4 separate regions of the Homo sapiens genome follow, and regions 1, 2 and 3 are each linked to region 4. The links are contacts of gene promoters, found by promoter capture Hi-C in blood cells and fetal thymus (Javierre and others, 2016). All regions are on one chromosome and are shown on one strand. Each heading gives the region's core, a stretch centred on a gene start or on the middle of the fragment in contact. The rest is flanking DNA. Distances are from core to core; before and after follow the strand shown. Region 1 overlaps SUFU (SUFU negative regulator of hedgehog signaling). Region 2 overlaps SUFU (SUFU negative regulator of hedgehog signaling). Region 3 overlaps SUFU (SUFU negative regulator of hedgehog signaling). Region 4 holds the start of ELOVL3 (ELOVL fatty acid elongase 3).

Region 1 (5,564 bases), core at 3,034-5,533, 400 kb after region 4:
AGGGGTCACATCACCAAATATGAGAATATTGTTTTAGGCCCCGCAATGCTTTCTCAGCTGTGTGGTGTCTGACAGCTCACCCAGGTTGCGCCCCTAGTCCCAGCCATTCTCTGCCAGTCCTGATGGGAAGCCCCAGGCGTGGGAGAAGACGCCCAGCAGCTGTTCCAAGTGGGCTCTGCTGCTCCAGGCCAGGCTTGGGAAGGTGCTGCCGAGCTCTCCTCTGGGCAAGCCCTGCCTTCTGCTACCCATTTGGATATTGTGTAGAAGATGACTTGGGAATCCCCAGCCCATGCCCTGGGCACCTCCTCTTTGGTGCCTCTACTGTTCCTCCTTCCACGGGTGAACCCAGGCATACTTATTCTCCCTGGAGACCTTTGCTTGGACTGCCCCGAGACCTTGTTGTCCAGGGGGACACCCATTAAGGTTTAGAGCCCAGCAATGCGCCTGGGGAAGTACCCTCCCTTGTAGGAAAGGACTGTGATGCCGCCCTGTGTCCCTGGCAGCCCACAGCCAGAGCAGGAGTCTGAGCCCGCTTCTGGCCACCAGAGCCAACTTTTCACCGCCCACTAAGAACAGGAAATGAGCGAGACCTGTGCCCCAACTGCAGCCCGCTACCTGCCGCACCACACGCCTCTGTCCCTGACCTGGGTTGGGGGTGTTCTCCAGGCTGTTTTCTGGCTTTTGTCTGGCCTGTGGAGTGGGGGTGGGAGGGAAGGGATGCAGACAGGACTGCTTCCCCGTCCCTGCCTCCTCCACTGCCATCGTGGGTGCCAGAGCAGCTCCTTGGCAGGCTCTTCCACTGTAAACAACACATTTCCTTCCCTGAGAGGAGGAAAGGGAGGGAAAAGAAAGCCAAATTTGTTGGGAAGCAAGTACAACGTGTCAACATGAAGAACAAACAATGCCCTGGACAAAGTGTGGATTGTCATACCAAAGGGAAGGAGTGGGCATTGTCAGCCACTCTTTGCAGACTCAGAAATATCATTGACCACAGACATCTGAATCGGCGTCAGATCTGCAGCAGCTGGGCCCCTGCCTGCAGTGCAGCCTGGCTTGCCCAGGGCAGGCACTGACACAAGATCACTTTTCGGGTTCCTTTCTGGAACTTGCTGGGGCCTGGGGAATTGGGAGGTTGTTGACAGTCCTCCCTCACCACCACCCAGCCAAGCTGGTTAAGGCAGCTGGTGTGAGCCCACTGGAGTAGCTGCTGGCCTAGATTCCAAGCCCCCCTCCCTGGCCAAAGGTGGGAACTGGGGGTAACCAAGATCCATTGCCCCCCTCGCAGCTCAGCCCGTTTGATGGTGGTGAAGCTACAGCCACCAACTCACCCCTGTTGGTTAAGCCTGTGCCCAAACCCCCTTTCCCTGTGGGCCTGAGTATTTCCCCAGCAGCCCCTCACCATGATCTCCTGGGGCACCACTTAAGAATACAAGTGCTGGCCAGGTGCGGTGGCTCACGCCTGTAATCAGTCCCAGCACTTTGGGAGGCTGAGGTGGGTGGATCATCTGAGGTCGGGAGTTCGAGACCAGCCTGACCAATGTGGAGAAACCCCATCTCTACTAAAAATACAAAATTGCCAGGCACGGTGGCTCACACCTGTAATCCTAGCACTTTGGGAGGCCGAGGCGGGCGGATCATGAGGTCAGGAGATCGAGACCATCCTGGCTAACACAGTAAAACCCCGTCTCTACTAAAAATACAAAAAATTAGCCGGGCATGGCGGCGGGCGCCTGTAGTCCCAGCTTGTTTGTCTGCTGTTAAACAGCAGACAAAACTCCAGCCCCTGGCCGGGCCCAGTGGCTCACGCCTGTAATCCCAACACTTTGGGAGGCTGAGGCAGGAGAATGGCATGAACCCAGGAGGCGGAGCTTGCAGTGAGCCAAGATCATGCTACTGCACTCCAGCCTGGGTGACAGAGTGAGACTCCGTCTCAGAAGAAAAAAAAAAAAAAAAAATTAGCTGGGCATGGTGGCACATGCCTGTAATCCCAGCTACTTGAGAGACTGAGGCAGGAGAATCACTTGAACCCAGGAGGCAGAGGTTGCGGTGAGTTGAGATCGTGCCATTGCACTCCAGCCTGGAAAACAAGAGCAAAACTCCGTCTCAAAAAAAAAAAAAAAAAAAAAAAAAGCATGGGCCTTGGCCTTACCCCAGAGTATTCTGATTCAGGAAGTGTGAATGGGGCCTAGCATCGCCATATTTTCAGAAGCTTCCCAGGGGAGTGTGCTGCTCAGATTGGTTGAGGGTCTTCCTCTCTTACTAGAGGGTCTCCTCCCTCTGAGGGCTGTTTGTGTACAAACATAAGTGTTTTCTGCCTGGCTCTTGGTAAGTGCAAATATCAGTGAGTGCTGTTATCAATATTATTTCTACTGCTACTTTCTGGGCTAGAGAACTGTCAAGATATATGTATTCACTAGGCTGGCCTGGGAATTTGCCCCACCGTCCCCACTTGGGAACCATCTCTGGGCATTGGTTTGCCTTCCTTTTCATTGGCCAGTCTGGTTTTTTAGCAGTGTCTGTGACTCTCAGGCTTCTAGCCCTCTTAAGTTGAGCAGGTGGCCAGGAAATGTGTGGCTGGTGGAGGTTGGGACTGCTGATTTTCCAGGTCATTGGTAAAAACCAAAGCTACCTTCACCTCCCTCATCAGAAGACAGAGAAGTTATCCCCATCTATATAGGCTTCTACAGTTGGGGTGTCTTCCCCAGACAGGAAAAGAGCATCCTCTATCACCATGAGATCAGATAGCCGTTCCTCTAAAGTCCAGAGCCTTGAGCCAGGCGTGGTGGCTCTTGCCTGTGATCCCAGCACTTTGGGAGGCCAAGGCGGATGGATCATTTGAGGTCAGGAGTTCAAGACCAGCCTGGCCAACATGGCAAAACCCCATCTCTACTAAAAATACAAAAATTAGCCGGACATGGTGATGGTCACCTGTAATCCCAGCTACTCGGGAGGCTGAGGCAGGAGAATCGCTTGAACCCAGGAGGCGGAGGTTGCAATGAGCCAAGATTGTACCACTGCACTCCAGCCTGGGCGATAGGGCAAGAGATTCCATCTAAAAAATAAAAAGAAAAGTCCAGAGCCTTGTCTCCTCTGGGTACCTACCCTTGGGCAAAGTGGGGATGATAGTCACCTCCCTAGCAGAACTGCCATAAGGATTCAATGAAATGACACTGATCAAGCTCTTAGCACAGCGCCTAGCACATGGTGGAGGTACTGCTTCTGCTATTGGCCATTTTTACTGTCATTTTTATCATCACCATTCCCATTATTATTCGTGACAGAGCCAAGCAGCTCTGTAGGGACCCAGTGAGCCTCAGGAGTGCCAAGCCCCAGAACTGCACAGGCTTTTCCCACAGTTGCATCACAAGGGCAAGTCTGTTACTCGGGAGAGCTCCCAGGAGCTGCCCCATCTTAGCTGTCTATCTCCAGTGTCCTGTTGATAAGATCTGTTAACATTCTCAGCTCCAGGTCTGAAATATACAAAGAACAGGGCCTGTTTGTTCAATCCAACCTTCTAAGGTTTAACTCCCAAAGGAAATTAAATTAGGTGCCTGGAGCTATGACAGTCTGTCGTGTTTCTTTGCAGAGAATGTCACCTTTAATATCATGTAGATCTCATGTATAATTTTTCCCCTTTAATTCTTTTAAAATAACGTGAAGTTTCCAGCGGGAACCAGCAAATCACCAAAAGCAAAAATGGAGGAGCAGCTAGGGTTTGTCCTCATTTTTGATCTGGCCATCCCCTCCCCCAACCGAGTCCAAAATAAGTCCACACACAGATGGTGCCGCGCATGGTCGTTGCTCTACTAAAAGCCACCATAACTCACCCTCTCCTTAGCACCAGTTCCAGACCTTTGTCAGGGGAACCAGCTTAGAATTGAACTCAGTGTTGGTGGCATTACGTTTCCTTGAAGAATAACTCTGGCGTCTCACTGGGTGGCCACAGCCTCTGTGAACCCTTGCCCCTCTTCCTGTCCTCCCTCCACCCCATCTCACCCCCAGCACTTGTTATAGTCCCACATCTATTTACTGATCTGGCAGAAAGCCCCTCCCTCCAAGTTATTTGTGAGTTAGAAATTAGCCCAGCCCGGCCCAGACTGGAGCCATTGTAATATAATTGGGTTTTAGGTATGCTTGTGTTTGTGCTAGCATTTGCAGAGATGGCAACGAGCCCCGGAAATGCCAAAAATATGAATGTAACTTTTGTATTGCTTGAGCAGACTGGTGATAACTGGTGGGGAAACTGAACTTTTGGGGAGGACACCCCTGGGATAAGAGAGTAGGAGGAGCAAGGGCTTAGGCTGTGAGAGGGAGTACGTGTATGGCTGGAGTCTGTGGGCAGAGTCGGCCAGTCCCACTTTGGGGAATTAGGAAGAACTGTAGGGGTGCACCTCCCCGAACTTTGCCAACTTTGCCTCTCCTGCTCTGTCTCTAAGCCTTGTCTCTGTCCTTGGTCGGGGCCCTAGCTCCTAGAACAGAGAGTTTGGTGAGGAGACGTGGACCAGTGGTCAGAGTTATTTTGTTCCTGCTATGGGCTTGGAGCCTGGGAAGGCTGGGTCTCTTGTCTCCTTGCCAGCCAAAAGAGGGTGCTTGTCCTGGTGGGAAATGAGCTGCCTTCATGCCTGTGTCCCTGGAAGGATGAATGGATGAGTTAGTGTCCTGGGGGTGAGAGTTCAGCATTCGGGAGCAGTACTCCAGGCACTAAATTGAGAGTCCAGACATGATCAGGATATGGTCTTAACCACTCACAAGCCGTGTGACACTGAGCAAATTACATAACCTGCCTGTGCCTGTTTCCTCCACTGTAAGGAGACATGGAGATGAGCAGTTAGCATGCCCGGTATGATGGCGGCTTTTCTGCTCACTTGGGGGTAGTGTTCTTATTTCTCACTCCCTCCTCCACCCCGTCCACTTCTTGCTTTAGAGACCTCCGTCCTGTGAGCTCCCGAGCCGTCCTGTGTGCTCACCTTCCTGTGTGCACTCCTTCCTTGTTATCTCACAGCGTGGAAACTTTTGTTCTTGGCAGCTGACAATTCCCAGGGGAAACCTGGTGGGTATTTTTTCAAGTTCTCAATTCTCCTCCTCACAGGGAGGGTTTCCCCTCAGAGGAGCCCCTCACCTGGATCTTCACCCCATTATCTTTCTTCCTTTGTGCCCTACCTGGGTGCTCAAGGTGTACGGGAGAAGACAGGTAGAGCTGTGGCCTGGGGGTACAGAAGGGTCTGCAGTGGAGGGAGGCTGGGAGGCCCTGGGGACAAGGACAGGGAGGGGGAGGGGTGAAGGAAGGGGTCACAGTTGGAAGAGGAAAGACACCCTCACCCAGGGCGTGGTGGGGTGCAGACCTGGGATCAGCTTGGCCTGGCTCTGCCTAGCAGCCTGACGAGAGGGGTGGGTGGGGAAGAATGGCCCAGCAGATTGAGGAAGGCCGGTTTTAGAGGGCCTGAGAGCCCTTGGACGTTGGTATTGGCTGTGAAAACTTCTTTAGCGGATGAAGTTGGTGTTTGTGCCAGCCAAATAGTGGGGCCAGACTCAGCATCAAAGCGAGAGGCAATGAGGTGTCAGAC
Region 2 (6,390 bases), core at 451-2,950, 290 kb after region 4:
CTTGACCTTGTGCTGGGATTACAGGTGTAAGCCTCTGTACTGGCCTAAACTCACTTCTAAAAAGCCTGTAGCTGGGCATGGTGGCTCACATCTGTAATCCCAGCATTTTGGGAGGCTGAGGTGGGCGGATCACCTGAGGTCAGGAGTTCGAGACCAGCCTGGCCAACATGGTGAAACCTGTCTCTACTAAAAATACAAAAATTAGCCGGGTGTGGTGGTGGGCACCTGTAATCCCAGCTACTGGGGAGGCTGAGACAGGAGAATCGCTTGAATCCAGGAGGTGGAGGTTGCAGTGAGCCGAGACTGCATCATTGCACTCTAGCCTGGGCAATAAGAGTGAAACTCCATCTCAAAAAAAAAAAAAAATTAGCTGGGCATGGTGGCACACACCTGTAAACCAAGCTACTTGGGAGGCTGAGGCAGGAGAATCGCTTGGACTCGGGGGCCAGAGATTACACTGAGCCGAGATCTCGCCACTGCACTCCAGTCTGGGTTAAGGAGTGAGACTCTGTCCAAAAAAACAAAACAAAGCAAAACAAACAAACAAAAAGAACAACTGAGTGGTGTGGTATTGTAAGTGACTACCAGGCCAGAGTGGTGCCAGGTAGGTCAGCGCTGGGAAAGTTCCTTCTCTTCCTCAAGAGACTTGGAAGCCTTTATGGGTTTGATGCAATCTGATCTCTCAGTCCCGGGATTTTTCCCTGTTCAGCCCACCCTTTTGGGCTCTCCTCTTCCAAGCTGTGCTGTTATCTATTTTGAATGCTATTCCCCATACCTCTCATGTCCTGGGTCTGAGTTTGCTAGCCTCTCCCTTATCCACCTTTCTGATTCAGGGGTCCCAACTCTGGCCTTTGGCCCTTGACTCCTGAATTCATTCATGTATCTTGCCTCTGAGGTATTCAGTGCAGCTTCATTTCTTGTTTCAGTTCTGATGTTGTTCCTGAGATGTGTCTGGTGGGATCTTATCCTCTATGACCTCAGCCCTGAGGAATGGTATCCTCACCCGTCCAACTAACTTTGCAGCTTGCTGTCCTGCCTACCAAGCTCTTGAGAACCAGGCTGTGCAGCACACTCACCAGCAGAGCTATCTTGAGTCCCCTGTACAGGCAGAACATTGGACAAGATGATGTGTTTGAGTGTGGAGACAATGAAGAATCTGACCGAGCGCCTGCCCTTAAAAATGCAGCATGTGCTTGGTAGGAGATGGTGAGGTCCTTGAGAAAGAAGATGACAGTGAGGATTGGGACTGGGAGCAGCTTCCTGTCTCCCTGTGACTTTGAGGCTCTCTCCCCTCATCCTGTGATCTTCAGTGTTCCAAGAAACTTTAAACATATAATTATTATTACAAACAATTATAGCCCTTACTTTGTATAAGGCACTTTTCTAAGTGCTTTATATAAACTCATTTAATCCTCAGAACAACTCTATGGTGTAGGACTTATTATCCTTATTTTACACATAAGGAAACTGAGATGCAGAAATGTTAAGGAACTCATCCACCCAGCCAGTGAATGCTGGAACTGGGATATAAACCCAGGCAGTCTGGATCCAGTAGTCACCACCTCCTTTTTCTACCTCCTGCAGAGAGCTGGAGAATTCTATTCAGAATTATGCTGCTAAATTCAAAGTTATCTTGGATTAATGGAATGAAATGATCAAGACTGAGTAGAGTTAACCAGAAAGTGCTTTGTGGGGGGAAATGTTGAGCTGGATGTAGAAGCTATCTATCTAACTGTCTGTCTGTCTGTCTATCTATCTATCTATCTATCTATCTATTTATTTATTTATTTTTGACACAGGGCCTGGCCCTCTCGCCCAGGCTGGAGTGCACTGGCTCCATCTTGGCTCACTGCAACCTCTGCTTCCCAGGCTTAAGTCATCCTCCTACCTCAACCTCCTGAGTAGCTGGTACTGCAGGCATGCACCATCATGCCTGGCTAATTTTTATACTTTTTGTAGAGATTGGGTTTTGCCATGTTGCCCAGGCTGGTCTCAAACTCATGAGCTCAAGCCATCCCAAAGTGCTGGGATTATAGACGTGAGTCACCGCACCCGGCCTGGAAGCAGCTTTTAAAGAAAGGGTCTGGCCGGGTGCGGTGGCTCACACTTGTAATCCCAGCACTTTGGGAGGCCGAGGCAGGCGGATCATGAGGTCAGGAGATCGAGACCATCCTGGCTAACACCCTGAAACCCCGTCTCTACTAAAAAAATAGAAAAAATTAGCCAGGCGTGGTGGCAGGCGCCTGTAGTCCCAGCTAGGCGGGAGGCTGAGGCAGGAGAATGGCATGAACCCGGGGGGCGGAGCTTGCAGTGAGTGGAGATGCGCCACTGCACTCCAGCCTGGGAGACAGCGAGACTCTGTCTCAAAAAAAAAAAAAAAAAAGAAAGAGTCCTTCAGGGCAATGGCAGGAGGGTAAAATGGGACAGCAGGTGACAGGTGTCATCTCTCAAGTCAAGACTTCACCAACCAGGCTGGGCATGGTGGCTCACTCGTGTAATCCCAGCACTTTGGGAGGCTGAGGCAGGTGGATCACCTGAGGTCGGGAGTTCGAGACCGACCTGGCCAACATGGTGAAACCGTCTCTACTAAAAAAAACCACGAAAATTAGCCGGGCCTGTTGGCGGGCACCTGTAATCTCAGCTCTTCAGGAGGCTGAGGCAGGAGAATGGCTTGAACCCACGAGGCAGAGGTTGCAGTGAGCTGAGATCATGCCATTGCACTCCAGCTTTGGCAACAAGAGAGAAACTCTGTCTCAAAAAAAAAAAAAAAAAGTCTTCTGCAACCTTATCGTAGTCATTTACAGTAAGTTGCCAGGAAAGTCTGCAACTTTTAAAAACATAAAAATTTCTGGCTTAGATGGCAAGTTCCCATGGTCATGCTGCTGCTTCTGTGGTCAGGGATGTGCCCAGCATCTCAGTGATCCTTATATCAATGCAGATAGTCATTTAAAATTTTTTAAATTCCTTTAATGATTTATTTTTAATCAATAGACTTTATATTTTTGTGGGGTTTTTTTGAGATGGAGTCTCGCTCTGTCGCTCAGGCTGGAATGCGGTGGCATGATCTCAGCTCACTGCAACCTCCGTTTCCTGGGTTCAAGCAATTCTCCTGCCTCAGCCTCCCGAGTAGCTGGGATTACAGATGCCCACCACCACGCCCAGCTAATTTTTGTATTTTTAGTAGAGAGGGGGTTTCGCCATGTTGGCCAGGCTGGTCTTGAACTCCTGACCTCAGGTGATCTGCCCACCTCGGCCTCCCAAAGTGCTGGGATTACAGGTGTGAGCCACCGCGCCTGGCCAGTTTCCCCTATTATTAACACCTTGCATTATTGTGGTTTATTTGTTATCATTGGGGAACCAATATTGATACTTATTACTACCTTAAGTCCATAGTTTACCTTAGGCTTCACTCTTTGTGTTGTACAGTTCTTTTTTCTTTCTTTTTTTTTTTTTTTTTTTTTTGAGGCAGAGTTTCACTCTTGTTGCCCAGGCTGGAGCACAATGGTGCGATCTCAGCTCACTGCAGCCTCCGCCTCCTGGGTTCAAGTGATTCTCCTGCCTCAGCCTCCTGAGTAGCTGGGACTACAGGCACCCGCCACCACGCCCGGCTAATTTTTTTGTATGTTTAGTAGAGATGGGGTTCTACCATGTTGGCCAGGCTGGTCTCGAACTCCTGACCTCAGGTGATCCAACCACCTCGGCCTCCCAAAGTGCTGGGATTACAGGCGTGAGCCACCGTGCCTGGCCAGTTCTTGGGTTTTGACAAATGCATGTCATGTATATACCATCACAGCACCATACAAACTAGTTTCACTGCTCTAAAAATTCCTTGTGCTCCACCTGTTCATTCCTCCCTCCCCCGAAACCCCTGGCAACAACTGTTTGGTTTTTTTTACTATCTCTGTAGTTTTTGCCTTTTCCAAAAGGTCATAGAGTTGGAATCAAATAGTATGTAACTTTTGCAGACTAGCTTCTTTCACTGAGTAATATACAGTTAAGATTCCGCCGTGCCTTTTGGTGACTTGATAGCTCCTTTCTTTTTATCACTTGATACTATTCCATTGTTTGTTATGTACCACAGTTTATTCTTTCACCTTTTGAAAAATATCTTGATTGCTTCCAGTATTTTTTGGCGATTTTTAATTAAGCTTCTATAAACATTTGTATACAGGTTTTTGTGTGGACATACGTTTTCAACTCATCTGGGTAAATCCCTAGGAATGTAATGCTAGATCGTATGTTAAGACTATGTTTAGCTTTATGAGAAGCTGCCAAACCATTTTCCATAGTGGCTATACCATTTTTCATTCCCACTAGCAATGAATGAGAGTTCCTATTGTTTCATGTCCTCACCAGCATTTGGTATTGTCTGTTTTTTGGATTTTAGCCATTCCAATAGGTGTGGAGTGGTATCTAATTGTTTTAATTTGCAGTTCTCTCATGACATATGCTGTTGAGCGTCTTTTCATATGCTTGTCTGTCATCTGTATATCTTCTTTGGTGACATATCTTTGTTTTTCTTCCTAACCTCCAGCCACTCCCCATTCTACCTCTGCCCATACATACCTTTTTCTCACATCATGGGTTCAGACCATGGGGCTAATTATGCTTTCTGGCATATTTTTCTTTTGGTCACTTCTCAAGCCGTTAAATGAGTTAGATCCGCTGAGTAGGTGCTGGGCCTACCTCTGAATTCCTAAGTTGCTGTTGGTTTTAACTGGGGCTGGCTCATGAGTTCTCCACCTTATATTCTCCAATGATGGTGTCTTCCATAAAGTGTAGCTGCTACTGAGATTTGCAACCTCAATCCTAAGGTTTGAGATTGATTCTGCCCTCCAGTACAGACTGTAGAGAGACTGGTATGCAGATTTGTCCATTCCATACCCTATTGGGCTTAACCTTGCCTTTGATGAGAAATGCATATACCATGCTCCTTTGAAGCCCCAACCAGATCTCAAACTCTCATAGTTGAACCAGCATCAAGAAGACAAAGTCTAAAACTTTCCTGGCCTGGCCTTTTGCTGTTAAATTCGTTATTGTTATCCAATGTCTTAGTTGTAATTTTGCTTTTTTTCACTTATAAAAACAGTTGAACCATTTTACTAAAAATGTTGGGAATTAGAAATGGGAGAAAACAATTACTGATAATCCTATCACCTTTTGTTTACAATTCTATGTCTGTTCTTATGATGATTTCTGTAAATGATTCTATAAATAACTGGGAGTGACGCTGTCCCAGTTGTGCACAGGGCTTTTGCTTTGCGTGCATCTCATCTTCTTAGTGAGGACTTAACATCTTCTGAGGCTTCCCTGCTACCTGCTTAACGCTGTTGTCTGAATTCAGCTTGCCCACTGTTGCTAGGGTTTCTAGATTCTGAAAACAGCACATTTGCTTGGGAAGATAGCTCTTACCCACTGCCATGTTACATTAACGATATTCCCATTTTTCCTCCTTGACGTCTCACAGCAGTGAAGAGTGGTTTAGGTAGTATATGTATGAACTGTGCTGTTTGCCTACTTCTCAGATCACAGCTTTACTATCACAAATGGTGGTAGCTGTCCTGAGGGGTTGTGTTCTTCCAGTTGTTGCTTTTATTGTTATTTTCCCCTTAGAACAGTCAAGATTTGGTGATCAGTGTCACCTGGAATAAATACCACACGCCTCCTCCTTTCTCTCTTTCTTGGGTGCGTGGTACAGAAGACTGAGATTGGCTTACAGAGTGCCCCAGGGTCCTTGTACTCGAGGGACACAGAAGGTTCACAGGCATAAGCACAAATGCCTAGAGCTCCTTTTCAGGTAATTGCCTGAAACAAATGGGCTACCATTTAGGGCTTCTGTCACACAGGAAGTCAGATAACTTAATACTACTGTATGTTTGCAGCAGGACTAGATCTAGAGATCTAGAGAAGGAGTGGCCCACTGTCCTTTCCTAGCACTGGGTTGTGGGTAAGCAGACACACTTAGTTCCCATCCAGCGTTGATCGCTGTCCTCTCTTCTTTGGAAGGCCAGACGTTAATCTGCTCCGTAGATTGTCATCGTTGGGACACAGTTCTGGGCATGAGGCTTGTAGTAACAAGCAACATAAACCTGGTCCTGGTCCTCATTGGGCTGAAGGGTCCTTGAGCTAGAAGACATTGTGGGGAGGTGGGCCTGATACAGTTTCACAGCCTTAGGTTATCACCTGGTGCCTCTTTGTCTCCTCTTCAGCAGTCCATGGCTTGAGGCCTAGTGGAGGGCTCTTGGCAAGCAGGAGTCCTGAGGCTCAGAAATGATGTGACCAGGCCTGAGTTTGAGGCTGAGACAGTTGTCCATTTGTCAGCGAGATCATAGCTTCACAGCAGCTTCTCAGAGAGGTATGGTTCACTGGACTCCAGGCCCCTAGCATGTT
Region 3 (5,591 bases), core at 1-2,500, 370 kb after region 4:
ATTGCTGGGAGCCCACTGGGCCACTGGGCAACTTAGTGGTGTCGTTGCAGACACAGAGCAGATCCGGGAGACCCTGAGGAGAGGACTCGAGATCAACAGCAAACCTGTCCTTCCACCAATCAACCCTCAGCGGCAGAATGGCCTCGCCCACGACCGGGCCCCGTAAGTTCCCCAGTGTCCCTGGGCTGGAACAAGAGGACGACTTTTTTCTGAAGGGCCTGTCCCTGTGGATTGCATGAGAGAGAACAATGCACATAGCCCTTGCTGGATGGGCCCAGGATCTCTAGGCTTAAGGGCAGGCATGGTCTGGGGCACACAGATCTATCTGTGGGTCATAGGAGAGGGCCTCAGAGGGGACCCAGCAGACCGTGAATATTAACATCAGTAAATATTTACATGAGCCGTGTGAACAGACAGGAGGCCAGGTTGGGGAGAAATCTGACTTGGGGCCTCCCAGCCTTGTGGGAGCCCATTGTGCTGAGCACGGTTCCCTCCTTATCTCAGTCTTGGCCAGAGTTGCCCTTCCTTCCTTCCTGGAGCCTGGTCTCCGGCTGATAGCTGCAACCCTGGGGGCCTCCCTCTCTGGCCAGCCCCATACTGGATGCCTGTGGCTGAGGCCCTTCTTCCTGCCTCTCTTCCCTGGGGCCCAGGGAAGGGAAAGGAAGTCTTTTGCAGGCCTCTGCTGCCTGTCCAGGGGCCCCTGTAGCCCTCCGGAGAGACTGTGGCCACCCTAGAGGTCAGATCCGCTTCCTGCCAACCTCTCTTCCTCTGATAGAGGGGATGAGTGATAGGCAGGGCTGAAGCTGGGCACCCCCCTCTGCCCTTAGTCCCAGGGCAGCTCTAGGGAATAGCTGCTGGCAGGAGATACCTGGGGGCTGGCAGCCCAAAGCAGGAACCTTGCCTGCCAGGGAGGAAATTGCTGTGCCTTGGGCTGAAAGGGAGGTTGATCATCCTGCAAGACCAGGGTGATCTAGCCTTCTTCTATGAAGTCTTTATTACACATTTGCTGTCTGACAAGCTCGGACCTAGGGGGCCATCTGGGGTGCACAGGCTCTTCCTTTGGGAGAACATGAGTGAAACAGTTACCTTTTAATGGTGTGCATCTGGCTGTCGATGTGATTTGTTGGAAATGGCTGCTTCTCTGGATTCTAGCTCTAGTTGCTGATCGTGTTTCCCAGAAGTAGTAATGCTTCAGTGCACTACAGAAAAGACAGGTCCACAGGATCTGGGGTAGTTAGGGAGGGCATCTTGGAGGAGGAAGAACATAGCATCGACCTTGAGGGCACCTTAGAATTTTAATAAGCAGGGGAAGGAACTCAAGAGGATAGCACAGGGGAGGCCTGGCTGGTTAAAGTTGAGGCTGCCTGCTGGGACCTGACTGGAACTAGAGTTACTCTGGGAACAGGGCTGTACTGAGAGTTGAGCTCTTTGGCAAAAGCCTGGAGAAGCCTCCACCGCCACCTCAGAGCAGCTTTTAACTCCGGCCTGTAGGTTTCTCCAGCCAGCTGCCCTGAAGTAGCTGGCTGGAGGCATCCTGATCATCCCCTGGCAGCAGCAGATGGCCACACCAGGTCATACGACATATGGAAGCTCTCTACCTGTGAGTCTGGACCCTGTCCCGGGTCTACACTCCTTCCCATTCCCTGAGCTTGGCTTCTCGCTTTGGGCCTCCTTGGCACTGTTGGCAGGCCAGAGGTACTGGAAGGCCTATAACATGGACACAGTCTCAGTCCAGATGGCTCTCTGCCTCTGGAAGCCTGGGGTTTCTAGGCAGAAGGGCACAAGCTCCTGCAGAGATACAACCTTCTTGCCCCGCTTGTGTATCTGGAACAGGCCTGAGATCTCACTCCCTGGCTTGGGGGCACTTCCAGCTACTGCACCCCTGGACATTGCAATGGGGCACAAGGCTCTGTGCTCCTAGATATACACATAAGCCGAGACTCTCAGCCTACACCCTAACTGGGCAGTCGGGTATTGGTTCTGGCCCAAGGGTTCTCTGTAAACATAAGGCAGAGAGGCTGCAGCTTCTACCCTTTGGCTTGAGTTGGCTGAGATACAGAGAGATGGGTGAGAATAGATTCGAGGTGCCGGGGTTGTCTCCCCTTCCTGAAGGTTTAGTGCCCAGTAAGGTCTCTAAAGCACCAGGACCTGTAGTCTGAGGGGAATAGAATGTTTCCTCTGAGGCTGTCAGTATTGGTTACCAATTTGTTAGCAATTGGTTGAGAAATGGTTTCTCCTCCTCCTTTGCCAAGAACATTCTCCAACACACCCCTCAAGCCTGTCAGACTCAAGTTTCCTGTTATCTCAGGATCGATGATGATGGACTCAGTTCAGATCAGTGAGCGTGACGGTAATATCTGTGCTGCCCACTCTGGGACCTGACCCCATTTCACATACACCACATGGATTGCAACTGAGAAAGCTGACCCAAAATGTGCTGGCACCAGTGTTTGCTCCTCTCCCTGTTGGGGGGCAGCCAGCGTGGGCCATATTTTGTCTGCGGGTCTGATTTCCCCTTAGTCAGGACTTCTGGGCCAGGGAGCTCTTATGCATGGGTCTTCGCGGGTTTGTCTGTGGTCTAAGGAAGATACAGAGCTAAATCAGAGGCTCAGAGCAGCTGATCAAGCCTGGGCAATAGCAGCCGGGTGCCGGCCTACTTGGGGGTGTCAAGCACTTGCTCTTTTCACACTTCAGCAGCAGCTAAAACCTTATTAGTGCTCATTCTGTGCTAGGTAATGTGCCAGCTACTATGTGCTGCCATTCATTTATCTTATCCTCATAGCCATCCTGTGGTCGATAATCTTACATATTCCCCTTTAATGGATGAGGTACAGAGAGGCTAATAAGTATCTTTTCCAAGGTTGGAAAGGGGTAGAGCTTAGTTACAGCCATCTATCAGCCATTAAAATGGATGTAATCTTCCTTACCCCATTCTCAGGGACCCCATGGGGGACACATCAGACTGTGTCTCTGAGAAAATAATGACCTTTACTGGTAGAATTCATCTAACTAGTTGCAGCATGAATCAGGACCTCTCACATGGCACCAAGGACAAGGCCAAAGCCTCATATTAGAAGCTTATTGGGCTTATTTAACTAAACTCTAGGGGAGTTAAATAACTCCTATGAGATGCCATGAGCCTTGATGATTCCAAATCCCAGAAATAACAAGCTATGTCATAATTGGCTCATTTATACCAAAATTATTTTGTGACACAAGGCCTTACTTTCTTCATGTGCAGAAACTAAAACAACCCTCTCTCTGGTCCCTCTACCACCTCAGGGCTAGGGGATTTCTTTCCATTTTGAGGGTCTATTTCTTCCTTTCCAGAAAGGCAGGCCCCCTGGGTAACCCGCTCCTCTCCTACTCTTCATTGCCAGCCCTCCTCCCACTGCCTTCCCGGAAGGAGAGTCCTTGGCCCTCTTTGGGGCTTCTTCAGCATTTCACAACCCTTGCATTCCAGCCATGAAATCTGTATCTGGCTTTTCCCAAGATGATCAGTTGAGAAAAGCCTCCTTCAGCTTGCTGGCGCCTCCCTTCCCACTGCCTGCTCGGGTGAGTTTGGGAAGGATGGGAAGCAGTTCCTTTGTGCCACATGAGGACAGCCTGGCTTAAAGACTGTGCCTGCCAATATCTGTAGAGATTTGAGGAGGGAAAAGTTCCTGGGCATCCTCTCTGTCTGAGGTCACCTGGTCAGACATGGTCTACGGAGTCTGGTCTCTCTACAGTGCACAGAAGATACGTGTGGTCAGGTGAATTGTGTGTAGAGGTTTTCTTTTATTTATTTCTTTTTTTTAGACACAGGGTCTCCTTCTGTCACCCAGGCTGGAATGTGGTGGCAAGATCATAGCTCACTGCAGCCTCGAGCTCCTGGCCTCAAGTGATCCTCCTACCTTGGCCTCCCAAAATGCTGGGACTACAGGCATGAGCCACCACACCTGGCCTGTATTTCTCTAAACTGTTGCTCAGATGCTGGGAACCTGCACCAGTATTCTAGGGCCACCTCCTCCCTCAGCCAGTGACTTACCACCTGAGGCTGGGAACTCTTAGGAAGCTCTCTGAGTTGTGTGCCCTCCCAGAGAGGGACAGGGCACATGCAGGTGTGCACACTTATGTTAGAGGGGAAAAGTTCCTGACTATGGGAGAAGCACTTTGTAGTTGAGGCACCTCTAAAAAGCGAACTCACCATCACTGCTGAGTTTCTCAGTCTTCTAGAATCACACCAGCAGCTTTTAAGACCTTTAAAAAATTTTTTTTGCCTTAATTTCATGGAGAATTAAGATTCTGTACCATGAATTCCTCTGCTGTAACATTCACATTTGCAACACCTCCCCAACATACACACACACACATATACATAGATTTCTCTCTACTCTTAGGAGTGTCTCTGCACTTGTCTGTTTGGCCTTTGATTGGGGTGACTTTGCTCCCTCTAATTCCCATCTTGAATACCTTGTAACCTGGCCAGGGAGTCATCCTTTAGAGAAAATTGTGTTTTGTTTTGCTCAGCTTGTGAGGTCCATGAAGATTAATTAGAGGAAGAAAATATCTTGTTTGCATCCAACTTACCAGTGAATTGGGGTGAAGGAAGGTGAGTTTCCATCTGGGGAAACAGCTGGGCTGTGGCTGGTGCCGCTCGCACGAAGGGCAGTGTTGGGTAACCCTGCTTCAAGGGGTCTCTCCTGTCAGCGCAGTGGCCAGCCTGGAGCCCTCTCTGTCACGTTGGCTTCCCTCACACTCCCACGCTGGGGAAGTACAGTTGCTTGCACTGGAAAGAAAGCCCAGAAAGAAACAGCCCTTCTCTTAGGGCCCCAGCCAGACTCTGCAGGGCTGATGAGAGGAACAGCCCAGGCCTCTCTGCTCCCTGCGTCCTGGACAGCAGGCTCCTTTTTGCCTCCCTCACTGTGATCCATGTTGTCATGCCAAGTGCCTTTACAGGCCTTTCTCAGAAATACATATTTGAAAGGGCAGAGCAAGGGGCTCCACAGCAAGTCTGGCATGGGTAAATTTCTGTTTTAACTCCGTTCTTTGCTCCGCTTCCCCAAAGAGATGAAGTCACGGCCATTGTTAACACCTCAACTTCAGAATTCCTTGCTGGTGCTTGAATTCTCAGTCCAAACGCTGCATCCCCCTCCCTCGAGTTGCACAATCAGGGGTATTTTTATCGCCCATCCTTGATCCTCGGTGTCACCCAACACTTCAGCAGTGAGTCACTTCTCCAGGGAAGGGAAAAGGAAGGCTCAAAGGTAAGAGCTAGAGAAAGGAAATGACTCAGTGTCTCAGAAAAAGGAAAGCTGGGGTTCTGGCTAGAGTAAGCTCATTCAGGAGAGTAGGGGTCCTAATCTCCCACCCAAGTCAGAGGGTAGGGCTGGGGATGGCGGCCCCTGGTGCCCAGAGGAGTTAATAGTTGACTAGGAAATCCCCTAACCTTGATGCAGATTTTACTCACCCTGACTTCTTTAGCCATACTCTGTCCCACCATTTCATGATTTCATGATCACATTTTACCTTTGGGATATTCCCGATGAAAATATTGCCTTTTTTTTTTTTTTTTTTTTTTTTAACACGAGGTGAAGTCTCACTCTGTCACC
Region 4 (6,061 bases), core at 2,775-5,274:
AGGATTACAGGCATAAGCCATCATGCCCCGCCAATGCTCTTTAACATATATTATTTCATTTGATCCTCATAAACATCCTTCTGAAGTAGTTATCTCCATTGTACAGATGAGAAAGCTGAGGCCATGATATGTTTGATGATGTCTTCGCCAAGGTTACCTAGGTAGTAAGTGGCAGAGATAAAATCTGAATATAGGCATTCTGATGACCATGCCACCTCCAGAAGAAATGACAGGACCTTGTGTCCTATAGAAGAATATAACTTGACCTCACAATTTCTAGCCTGAAAAATTATATAAATAGTGGCTGGAAAAATCAGCCTATTTTGGAGGTAGATAACAAATTCTGTTTGGGGTGTGTATTGCTAAGGATGCTAGCAGAACATACCGGTAGAGATGTCCAACAGGCAGTTGGAAATAGGGAGAGAAAGAAGTTGGGTTGAGAACTCATAGACACAGAAGGCAGCTACTTGGCACCAGGTAATACAAGTGATTGGTGTTCTATAAACTTCCAAAGCCTGCTCAGTTATTCATCTGCTCACACCATCCCATGCTTAGCGCTTCTTCCTCTATGTTGAGGCTTTCAGGAGGGCTACTGGGGAAAAAAAACAAAACAAAACCAGTGACCACACAAAAGATAGGCTTGGAGTATTTATCCTGGAGAATAAATAATGTCACTCAGGTTTACATGCCAAGGATTTCATCCATTCAATCACTTGCGCAACAAATATTACCTGGGTTATGCTCAGGGTTAGGAGAATGATGAAAAAAACAGACATATTCCGGCAGTGGCTCATGTCTGTAATCTCAGCACTTTGGGAAGCTGAAGTGGGCAGATCACTTGAGGTCAGGAGTTCAAGACTAGCCTGGCCAACATGGCGAAAACTGTCTCTACTAAAAGCACAAAAATTAGCAAGGCGTGGTGGCACACATCTGTAGTCCCAGCACTCAGGGGACTGAGGTACGAGAATCGCTTGAACTCAGGAGGCAGAGGTTGCGGTGAGCCAAGATCAGGCCACTGCACTCCAGCCTGGGCGACAGAGCAAGACTCTGTCTCATAATAAAAAATTTTAAAAAATAGACATAGTCCCTGCATTCATGGAGCTCAAGAACTAGTAGGAAAAACAGGCATTGATCAAGAAATCACAAAAACAACTAATTATAAACTCTCACTGAAGAAAAGAAATACCATGCTCTGAGAACAGTTTATATAAAATAAGGGTACCAGACCAAGTCCAAGGGTCAAGGAATGTTTCCTCTAGAATATAATTTCTGAAGATTTTTCCTCTTCTTTTTTCTTTTTTGAGACAGAGTCTCGCTCTGTTGCCCAGGCTGGAGTGCAGTGACACAATCTCTGCTCAGTGCAACCCACGCCTGCCAGATTCAAGCAATTCTCCCTGCCTCAGCCTGCCAAGTAGCTGGAATTACAGGTATCCGCCACTACACCTAGCTAATTTTTGTATTTTTAGTGGAGATGGGGTTTCACCATGTGGGCCAGGCTGGTCTTGAACTCCTGACCTCAGGTGATCTGCCCACCTCAGCCTCCCAAAGTGCTGGGATAACAGGCGTGAGCCACTGCACCTAGCTTTTTTTTTTTTTTTTTGAGACAGAGTCTCACTCTGTCACCCAGGCTGGAGTGCAGTGGTGTGATCACAGCTCAGTGGCACGATCACAGCTCACTGCAGCCTTGACCTCCCTGGCTCAAGTGATCCTCCCTCCTCAGTCCCTGAGTAGCTGGGACCACAGGTGGGCGCTACCATGCCCAGCTAATTTTTGTACTTTTTGTAGAGATGGATTTTCACCATGTTGCCCAGGCTGGTCTCAAATTCCTGGGCTCAAGCAATCCCCCCACCTCAGCTTCCTACAGTACTGGGATTACAGGCGTGAGCCACCGTGCCCAGCCCCGAGTGTTCTTCTTTCCCTCTTCCACATACACCTCCTCCAAGCCTCACCATTAAACCTCACAGGGAAAGACAATGTTAAATATCTTCACAGAGAAATCCAGGACTGAGTATATATTCTCCATATGCACTTGTAAACCTCCCATAATGATTCACCTTGCCATTTCCATGTGTCTAGTCCACAATATCATTTTATCTACATTATCTGGCTTGCATACTAATCACAACCTTGTGACATAAGCAGGCGAGTATGACTATATGCATTTTTTTCTGAAGTAGAATGTGACAAAGGCTAGGTAACTTGCCTAAAATCACATGGCTCATTAATGGGGGTGCTGGGACTTGAACTTGGGTCTTGTAAGACCTAGATGGCATTATTCTTGTAATATTCATTCTTTTATTTATTCATTCATCCATAGACATGTATTGATCACCTTTTGATTAGCTGTCAGGCTATATATGGAGCCATCAGGAACCACTGAAGGTTTTTTTTTTTTTTTTTTTTTTTGAGACGGAGTCTCACTCTGTCACCCAGGCTGGAGTGCAGTGGCACGATCTCTGCTCACTGCAAGCTCTGCCTCCCAGGTTCACGCCATTCTCCTGCCTCAGCCTCCCGAGTAGCTGGGACTACAGGCGCCTGCCACCACGCCCGGCTAATTTTTTGTATTTTTTAGTAGAGACGGGGTTTGACGGTGTTAGCCAGGATGGTCTCGATCTCCTGACCTCATGATCTGCCCGCCTCGGCCTCCCAAGGTGCTGGGATTACAGGCGTGAACCACCGTGCCCGGCCGAACCACTGAAGGTTTTTAAGCAGGAAAGCAGAGCTGTTTTCTGGATGAGCAAACAGAAAGTAGTGGTTTTCCAAGTACAGTCTGAGACAACCTATAGGACCAGAATCTCTGCAGTTGAGGCTCAGGAATCTGGTAATCAGCCAGGTATAGGAACTCTTTTCTGATTGCAATGCAGTGAAGAGCAGAAGCACTGTATTAGAGAAAGAGGCAGTGCAACCAGGTAACGTGACCAGGTGAGAAGTGATGAGGTACAGAGACAAAGAGATGCACTTTTGAGTCACTTAGATGGCACTGATAGGACTTCCACTACACCCTCGCATAGACAGTGGCTGAGGTTCAGGAAATAGAGCTGGGGTTCCTACTTGGATCCTCTGGCTCTAGAGCTTTACTGCACATAGCCATTTATACCCACATCTTGATTTTAATTATTTTATATCTATGTTTCTTAGCACTTTTTGCAAATTTCCACCTTATCTCAAACTGCCCTCAAGCCTTGTATTTCTCCTTCGCTTTCATAAAACCTAGGAAAGAAATAAGGGACAGCCAAGTAAAACTTTTAAAAGTTTTAGAACATTTATTTCTTTGGGGCTGGTTACACAGGCGAGAAAGAAGTAGATTTGGTTAGGGAGAGAAAACAACAGGCCTTGGGGAGATACACTGGCTCTCCCCCTCCCTAAACCCTAAGAGGCCTCCAGGAAACCTGAAGACAATAATTCCAGAAGCCCAGAGGGTGACCCCATTTCCTCTCTCCATGGTTATTACTGTCAGTCTGGAGCAGTTCAGGAATTCAGGAAACTATAAAGAAACCACAACAGCCTCAACAACCCAAACATCAACATCAACAACCTCAACAATAAAACTCCTTAAAATTCATCTCCTTCCACCCACTCACAACCGCAGACTCGAAGCTAGGAGGTGGAAGGGACTACAGAAGCTCTGCGTTGCCCAGGTTAGTATTTGCTCATCACAGGCCTGGGTTTCCCAGGATCTCAGGGAGCCTGGAAACTGACGCCTCCATTTCTGGGTGGGAGCACCAAAGCCTAAGGACACCTTTCCTCTCTCTTCACTGCTAAGCAGGTCAAGATTAAAGCAAACCGAGGCAAAGGCCACGGTTGACAGTTCCAAGGGAACCCGCAAGGCCGCACAGGATGGGGTGGACGTTTTACGGGAGAAAAGGCTGGGGAAGTGGGCGGGCGATGGCCTACGACGGGACTTGGGGCGGGGTGTGCGAAACGCCTGGCAGGCGGGCCCTTGAGTATGACCAATCAGAATGCGGACTGCGTCCCAGGGGCGGAGCAGAGGCGTATCTTGGTCGAGATTGGATAGCGGCGGGGCGCAGGAAAGAGGTCGCGCCAGCCCGGGCAGGCAGCTTTGCAAGTCCGCGTTATATATCGCAGTGGCTGCGCCCGGGATAGCTGGCTGCGCCGCCGCGCACATGCCTAGGTTCGACGCCCTCCTCCCTTTGCCCAGGAGTTCCTTCTGTCCCGGCTCTGTTCCGTCTCGCCCCGAGGTTCACGCCATCCTCGGAGCCCCAGCCTTTCACCCAGCGCCTCCAAGCTTTGGACCTTGACTTCTGCAAAACTAGATGGTCACAGCCATGAATGTCTCACATGAAGTAAATCAGCTGTTCCAGCCCTATAACTTCGAGCTGTCCAAGGACATGAGGCCCTTTTTCGAGGAGTATTGGTGAGACTTTGGGAGAGGGAAAGGCCATGCCAGGGCCCCGGGGCCGGGGCGCGAGGGGGTGGCATTGAATGCCCACAATGATTTTCTTACAGAGCAGAGTTATGGGACTCCCTTGTACTGGCTTCACACTACCTTTGTCCGAGGTGCAGGTAGTATGTGGCACCTCAAAGAGATTAGAGCTGAAAGCAAGCAAGCAGAAATAAGAGGATGAGGGAGAACGTGGAAATATACAGAAGTCAAAGAGAGCGTGTAGTGAGAAGGGTCTTGGAGGCGTGAGGTTGATCTGAAGCCTTACTAGATGACTTCCCCGTCCTTTGTGGCTGTGTGTGCGCGCGTGTGTGCACAGTGCAGGGCCCGGGGGACAGCCTGCCCTTTACAATTATCCCATCGTTCCCCAGGTGCTCCACCGTTCCTGCTGTGGAGAAGGAGGCGAAGTCAGAGAGCTCTTCCAAGCTTTCCCCAGGAAGAGCTCTCTGGCTTTGCCTTAAAGCTCCCCAGAGGTTTTGGAGGCTGACTTTATGCTCCAACCAATTTGCCATACCCCAGCCAGGGAGAAGCTATTGCCACATTCTTCTTACGCCACAGCCCTGGTATGCTTCTAGGAGCCCCAACCAGGGAGAAGCTATTGCCACACTTCTTACACCACAGCCCTGGGCTGCTTCTAGGCGCGGGCCAGACAGCCGTCACCCACCTCTAACCCCACTGAGAGAGCAATAATCACAGAAACCTTGGACATAGCTCCTGCCCTGTGCTAGATACTTTGTATACGTTAATACCCCCAGGAGAGATGTAGTATTCGCGCTCTACAAATGAGGAAGCCAAGGCTCAGAGAATTAAGTTGGTTTTTCCAATGTCACATAGCTAGTAAGTGGCAGAACTGGGACTCCAACCCAGAGCACTCACCTGGAGAGATGAGTGGGCATTTCTCTAATCAGCACCCACCCATGAGCCCATCCCTCTGCCTTCTGCTTGCCAGGGCAACCTCATTCCCCATAGCCCTGATCTACCTGGTTCTCATCGCTGTGGGGCAGAACTACATGAAGGAACGCAAGGGCTTCAACCTGCAAGGGCCTCTCATCCTCTGGTCCTTCTGCCTTGCAATCTTCAGGTAAGACCCCATCCCACTCCCTGCCTCTTCTCTAGATCTTAGACCACCATTCTATCCCTTGAAGCTTTCCCGATTGCATCAACCTCCATCCTGTCCCCAAGTTGCCTTGTAACACTCTCCCCATCTCATTCTCGGCTTTAGTTCCCCTCCCAGCCTTCACCCTCTTCTGTTATATTATCCTGTTTTCCTTCTCTTTTAGACCCCTACCTGGTGGTCTCTGCTTTGTCCCTCTTGCCTTCGTAGAGTCTGTACTCGCAACTAATTTCTCCAGCCTCTAATAGTGTCACCTCCTAACACCCTCTCTCAAGACCCTCCAATAACTTCCCCATATTTTCTCCCCCAAACTCCTTCAGTCTTCCCCTATCCCTCTACACATCTCCTCCCAGGCTCCTAACCCCTCCCAAGAACCCCATTCCTTAACTCAACTTTCAGTCCCATCCCCCTGCATTCCCTGATCTTTCTCCAGCCCTCGTCTCCTCTAGACTACTGATTGGATCTACCAGATTGGCTTCAGGATCTCAGGAGCTTTGACCCACCCCCTGTGGACAGGTGGGGAGGTGGTAGAGCTTGGAACACAG

The links. The method cuts DNA at HindIII sites, captures the fragments that hold promoters and counts their contacts. A CHiCAGO score of 5 or more calls a contact.
Region 1: a contact is called between a fragment that was not itself captured here and the fragment with the promoter of ELOVL3 in region 4, in 1 of 17 cell types (activated CD4 T cells). The highest score is 5.4, in activated CD4 T cells.
Region 2: a fragment that was not itself captured here is called in contact with the fragment with the promoter of ELOVL3 in region 4 in 1 of 17 cell types (activated CD4 T cells); the score reaches 6.6 in activated CD4 T cells.
Region 3: a contact is called between a fragment that was not itself captured here and the fragment with the promoter of ELOVL3 in region 4, in 7 of 17 cell types (activated CD4 T cells, erythroblasts, naive B cells and 4 more). The highest score is 8.3, in activated CD4 T cells.

The regions. Positions count from the first base shown.
Region 1 is chr10:102,620,887-102,626,450 of GRCh38, forward strand. All of the region lies in intron 10 of SUFU (SUFU negative regulator of hedgehog signaling), which reads left to right. Among named protein-coding and RNA genes, the nearest start is that of TRIM8-DT, 20 kb to the right of the region's middle. The HindIII fragment of the contact is 4,153 bases long and covers 2,208-5,564 here.
Region 2 is chr10:102,516,773-102,523,162 of GRCh38, forward strand. The region is part of intron 2 of SUFU (SUFU negative regulator of hedgehog signaling); the gene reads left to right. Among named protein-coding and RNA genes, the nearest start is that of SUFU, 16 kb to the left of the region's middle. The HindIII fragment of the contact is 4,891 bases long and covers 1-4,146 here.
Region 3 is chr10:102,599,383-102,604,973 of GRCh38, forward strand. It overlaps SUFU (SUFU negative regulator of hedgehog signaling), which reads left to right. Exons shown (of 12, transcript NM_016169.4): 8 at 51-162. Among named protein-coding and RNA genes, the nearest start is that of TRIM8-DT, 41 kb to the right of the region's middle. RefSeq lists enhancers at 370-1,120, 4,338-5,537. The HindIII fragment of the contact is 3,650 bases long and covers 1-3,075 here.
Region 4 is chr10:102,222,275-102,228,335 of GRCh38, forward strand. It overlaps ELOVL3 (ELOVL fatty acid elongase 3), which reads left to right and starts at 4,025. Exons shown (of 4, transcript NM_152310.3): 1 at 4,025-4,375; 2 at 5,352-5,483. The coding sequence starts at 4,275. RefSeq lists a silencer at 4,007-4,056. The HindIII fragment of the contact is 5,656 bases long and covers 1-4,244 here.